Linked DNA regions of Homo sapiens: region 2 is linked to region 1. Evidence: promoter capture Hi-C in human tissues and cell types (Jung and others, 2019). All regions are on one chromosome and are shown on one strand. Each heading gives the region's core, a stretch centred on a gene start or on the middle of the fragment in contact. The rest is flanking DNA. Distances are from core to core; before and after follow the strand shown.

Region 1 (2,934 bases), core at 156-2,655:
GGGTACTTTGGTCTCTTGCATCTGCCTCCTTGGGCTGTCCTATATCCTTGTCTCCATGACCTTATAGTGACCCTTGTTCAGAGCATTCTAGCAACAGAATGATTATCTCTTCTCAGATTCTCATTTCCCATGTTCTTTAAGAAGACGAGAAGCCTGTTTTTCTGCCAATTGCTGCAAGGGGGCTGGACTTCTCTCCCTTCAAATATAACTTTGAAGGTCCTGATACATATTGAGAAGGGCCTGGAGGTGATTAGAGGAATGGAGGAAAATTTGTATTTGGGATTCTTCATCCTCCCAGGGTAACATGCAGAACAAATGCTTAACGAGGTAGAACAATCCCTCTGCTACAGGAGAAAGCGGGAGGAAGCAAGAGGAATACTCATGGAAAGCCTTCATATGTTTGCAGAAACAGCAGCCCTTGGATTTGAGAGGGCAACGTTTATTTGCCCTCTTGATATAAAGGAGGAACCTCTGGAGGACTTGGTGTTTGGGATAAGACCCTGCAAACGGCAGAGAATTTTCCTTCCCCACAAAGGGGTGCTAACTCAGAAAAAAAGCGAGTGGGTGGGGTCCTTAAGGGCTACAGAGTGAGGTCCTATGCAAGCAAGCAAACCATTCAAAAGCCAGGGAGAAACATGGCCCTGGAGCATAACAGGGATGAAAAGCATATGGTAAGTCATAAGGAGCTGACAGAGCTAAGGTTCTGATTAGTGTCTATCCCGGCAGTGAGCCAACAGACAGGGAAAGGGTTGGAGGTCATCCGAGCTGGTAGGGTAACAAGTATAAATATCAAGGGACATCCGTAAGGGAGTCCATCTCTTGGTTGCCAGGCTAACACAGCAAGAGCTGCGGGTGCATGAATAACAAATAGGGAATGTGTGTTTAAGGCAGAGAAGAAAGTTGCAGGGCATGCAAAGTAAGAACAGAGAAAAGACAGACTTACCCCCAAGGCAGTTGGTCCAATGGGTGTGCGAGGTCATTTTGGAATACATACAGAGAAAGGAAAATAGGTGGTGGTGGGTTTTTGGGAAAGAGCTGATTTTAGTTGAAAAAGCAGAGGAAACCCCAGATACTACATGGTTGTAGGTTTTAGCCCTACCGCTCTCATCAGCCTCCTGTCTGGGGGGGCCATTAGTGTCTCAGGTCTACTTAGTGCAGACTCCAAGGTCCTTCCCACCCCTGCAAGCCATCCTTCGGGGTGAGCAGAGAGAGCAGCCAGGGGGAGCAGAGCCACTGTGGTTGAGAGGAATCGTTCCAGGGGTAGGTTAGTAAGCAGGAGAGTGAAAGAGGAGAACGAAACCACGTACGAGGGTTGAACGCCTCCAGCCGAAGAAGGCAAGGCGTAGAGGTGTCTTACCACTAGGGAAGGTATCCGAGTCACTGCACCATTTGAGAGATCCAAGTGCCCTGTTCAGCCCTTGACTTGGGGTTTTATACATCGGCATGGTTCCGGGGTTTCCATTTCTCCTCCTTGGATTTTTTTCCTTGGGGTGGGCTGTCTGCTGTGCAGTGGCCTGTCAGCACTTGGGAGGAGCCACATGTGCATTTGTTTACTGAAGTTGTGCGCATGCTTTCTTGAGACATTTTTCCCTTATCAGTCAGGTGTTCCTAGAGGAAGGTCACATACTGGTTAAACTGTCATTTTGCTTCTTAGTGCGCATGCTTGAGCCCACTTGCCCAGCTTCGGAGATCTTATCAGGAAGTTGCTGATCACCAGCTTCCGGTGTTTCCTGTCTTTTGGGAGACTGTCTTTCCCTGGTACTGGCTGCAACCCATTATTATTATTTTAGAGAAACAGTGTAACAACCGCCTGATCATCACCTGATGGTCGCCTGACATTCCTGAGCTGGGGGCCCTCTCCTGCCCTGCTCATGTCTGCCTGACTACCTACTCTAACAGAACCAGCTTAACCTAATGGCCTCCTGATAGAACTGCTTGCTTTTTTTTTTTTGGAGACAGCCTCGCTCTGTCTCCCAGGCTGGAGTGCAGTGATGCAATCTTGGCTCACTGCAACCTCCACCTCCCGGGTTCAAGTGATTCTTGTGCCTCAGACTCCTGAATAGCTGGAATTAACAGGTGTGCACCACCATGCCCAGCTAATTTTTGTATTTTTAGTAGAGACAAGATTTCACCATGGTGGCCAGGCTGATCTTGAACTCCTGACCTCAAGTGATCTGCTGTCCTTGGCCTCCCAAAGTGCTGGGATTACAGGCATGAACCACCACACCTGGCCCAAACTGCTTTCCATAAACATAAATTTACCTTTCTAATGTAAATCAAATCACACAACATGCTTTTTGTGTTTGACTTCTTTCTGCTAGCATAATGCTTTTGAAATCTATTTGTGTTGTGTATATCAGTAATACATTCTTTTGTATTGCTGAAAGAGTATTCCATTGTATAGATATACCACAATTTGTTTATCCATTTACTCATTGATGGACATGAGAGTGGTTTCCAGCTTTTGGCTGTTAGTATTATTATTGTTTTATTTATTTATTTTTTTGAGATGGGGTCTTGCTCTGTCGCCCAAGCTGGAGTGCAGTGGTATGATCTTGGCTCACTGCAACCTTTGCCTCCTGGGTTCAAGCAATTCTCCTGCCTCAGCCTCCCAAGTAGCTGGGATTATAGGCACCTGCCACCATGCCTGGCTAATTTATTTTATTTTATTATATATTTTTTTGTATTTTTAGTAGAGACGGGGTTTCACCATGTTGGCCAGGCTGGTTTCGAACTCCTGACCTCAAGTAATCCACCCGCCTGGGCCTCCCAAAGTGTTGGGATTACAGGCGTGAGCCTGTAGTAGTAGTATTAGTAGTTAGTAGTATTATTAACATTCAGTTGCAAATCTTGGTGTAGACATATGTTTTCATTTCTCTTGAGTAACTTCATTTCTCTTGAGAAACTGCCAAACATTTGCATTGCCAGCAGTCA
Region 2 (2,934 bases), core at 254-2,753, 360 kb after region 1:
GGCCAGGTAGGAAGTGCCGCAATAGTGGCTGGCCCCTGGCAGTGCAGGAGAATCACCTGGAGCTTTGGGAGAATGCCAAGGTCTGGAGAAACACATATCTGTTATGAAGTTCATAAACAGGCAGAAGTAAATAATATATGTTTTAGATATACATACATTTGCATATAGATATAATAAAAGCATTTTCAAAACAAAGATGTAAAAATTCAGGGTCACGTTTACCTCTGGTGTAGGTAAATGAATGCATTAGTTGAGGATCACATGGATAATGAACTAATTATGATGTCCTGGCTCTTAAAGCAGGTGGCAAGTTCACGGGTATTTGTTATATTATTAAAATTGGACTACATGAAAGATGCACCCATGCAGTGGTGATGCATGTGCCATGAATCAAGATTCAAACTTTTCCAGTTCTAAGCACCTGAGATGCGATTTAGAAATGTACTAATGCTGCTATTTAAAAATTAGGACGGCTACTATTAGGCCATCTTAATTTGGATGGCTACTATTAAAAACATTAGAAAATAAGTGTTGGCGAGGATGTAGAGAAGATAGAACCCTCATGCACTCTTGGTGGGAATGTAAAATGGTGCATGCAGCCAGTGTGGAAAATAGCGTGTGGTTCCTCAAAAAATTAAACATTGAATTACCAGATGCTCTAGCAATACCATTTCTGGATATATATCTAAAATAATCACCACATACAGTGGCTCATGCCTATAATCTCAGCATTTTGGGATCTGGGAGCCCTCCCTTGGCTAGGGGCTATTTTCTAGGGTGTGAAAGAATGTGATACATGTGCTCTGTCCACTTCCCTGTCCCGTGGCACAGGGACAATCAGAAAGTCCCCTCTGCTGGGAGAAGGTCACGGTCCAAGATGACAGGTAAACCCAAGGTCAGAAGCCCAGGGCTCTTGAGGATGCCAACTGGCTCCACCGTATCGGGTGATTTCTCACATTCCTGGGGCCAAGTCTCCTGTTTTGTAACAGTTCAGTCAAGGATTTTACTGGAGTAGACAAGCATGAAATGAATTTTCCAGAGACGTTTCCGAAGTGGGGGAAAGTTCATGGCTCCAAGGCACCGGTGGATAATGAAACAAAACTGCGAGCTTCTGTTTTTCTTTAGAAAGAGGGCTTCCCAGTTTTTAAAATCTGGATTTCTAAAACTTGAGCTGTATTTTCAACTCTCAGCTCAGCTTTGCCCTCTCACCCTGGTGTTGCAAGTGGATTCTGCGCTGCTTCTGAATTACCCAGGTGGGCTGCCCGGGTTCTGCAAAGCACTGCAATATCGCTCAGAGCAGGTGCTCTTCAGACCTCTGGTTGCGATTACTCTCAGCGCAGGGTCACCACCACCCAGAGGGACACACTTGGAGCAAACTTAGTGAAGGGCGCTTGCCTTAATCAGCTGGTAATCGCCCATTATCAGTCTTTATTAGACTGTTGTTTATTTTAAGGAACTCGTCTTTGATTTATGTAAAACCAAATACTTAGTTTCAAAATGAAAACTAAAAAAAACCTGGCCATCCTTTTTCACTTTTGGCATTACCTACCCCGCACTTGTCTTTGATATACATATGTACAGAAACCAATTTTGGGCTCCCAGACCTAGGAGAAATAAGGAAAATAAAAAACAAAAATCAGTTTTATAAAACATGCTAATAAAAATACTTCGATTCATACTCATCCACCACTCACTGAATCTGCCGGTTCTGAACCTCGCTTCCACTGTTTGACCTTGAGTAACTTATTTAATAAATCAGTGAGACTCAGTTACCTCTAAATTGGAATAATAATACCTATTTGGAGGGGACTATTATAAGAATTAAGTAAAATACCATATACTGCCTCTTGGAATCACTCCTTTATCTCTATTAAAATTATTACCATCAGAATGCAGATCTCCAGTTTACTACACTTTACACCCTAGTTGCAGATGTGGTATCAAGGACTGACTCCAAGCTTATGTCCTTGCAACTAGCCTGACACTGACAAACGTTTCCCTTCCTGAAACACCAGCCCCTTGATACCACCCTTGCTTGAGGTTTCCAGTAGCTTCTTACTGCCTGTCCATACCAGCTGCAGCTCAAAACCCACCATAGCTTCATCCCGTTCCACTTCTATGACTATACTAAATGTTGCCTGTTTCCATCGGAGTGCCCTTTTAAACCCTTTTTCCTGGAGGTAGGAAAGTCTAACTTAGTTTTTCTAACTGCTTTTTGTTTTGTACATGTCTCTATCTTCCCACTCTTTCCTCACCACCCACTTCTTTCTCTCTAGCAAAATCCGTGTGCATCCAATAGGATTTACCTGCAGACCAGCCCCTCCCAGAAAATAGTCCCAACGTCGCCAGTCCACTCTGATCTTAGCCCCTCACTGAGCTCCGGCTGTCCCTGTAATCCTGACCGTGCTTTCACGCTTTTCATGGCTGAAGAGTCCTGCAAAATATGGAAACCCAGAGAAAAATGGTTAACAAACACTGACTATGATTTTCCTGATTGCACAGCTCAAGAGATTGAGTTCAACCACTTAAACTAGCTCAGATGTGGCACCTCTTAATCAAACCCTGTCTTTCTTTAGCCCTTTCTTTTCTCTTTTTCTTCCAATAAAAGAGTACTTAACATTGGATCTTTTATCTTGATCAGCAAAGTTTTATATTTAACTTTTTTCCCCCAAGACGTTTTAGAGGTACTTTATTTTTTTCTATTTTCTAGAGTGTGAAACATGGTATCTTAAAATTTACCTTAAAATTTATCAACATATTTTGTTTTGGATTTTCACAACATACTTATTTTAGATCCTTTGCTTTCACTTTAAAAAATAAAACAATGTCAACACTTCATACTGAAACAAGAGGGCATATTACAGAAAATGTCTTCTATTTCTCCTCTGTAATTGATTTCTAAAATTACTTTGTTACTAAATGTGCTATCTTAAG

What was found. The method cuts DNA at HindIII sites, captures the fragments that hold promoters and counts their contacts. A contact is called where the count stands out against the background at its distance.
Region 2: a fragment that was not itself captured here is called in contact with the fragment with the promoter of ERVFRD-1 in region 1 in 1 of the 25 tissues and cell types used here (lymphoblastoid cells).

What each region holds. Positions count from the first base shown.
Region 1 is chr6:11,110,320-11,113,253 of GRCh38, forward strand. It overlaps ERVFRD-1 (endogenous retrovirus group FRD member 1, envelope), which reads right to left and starts at 1,406. Exons shown (of 2, transcript NM_207582.3): 1 at 1,358-1,406. All of the region lies in intron 1 of SMIM13 (small integral membrane protein 13), which reads left to right. The HindIII fragment of the contact is 12,472 bases long and covers 1-2,934 here.
Region 2 is chr6:11,472,250-11,475,183 of GRCh38, forward strand. The region is part of intron 1 of LOC105374928 (a long non-coding RNA gene); the gene reads left to right. Among named protein-coding and RNA genes, the nearest start is that of TMEM170B, 64 kb to the right of the region's middle. The HindIII fragment of the contact is 6,820 bases long and covers 1-2,934 here.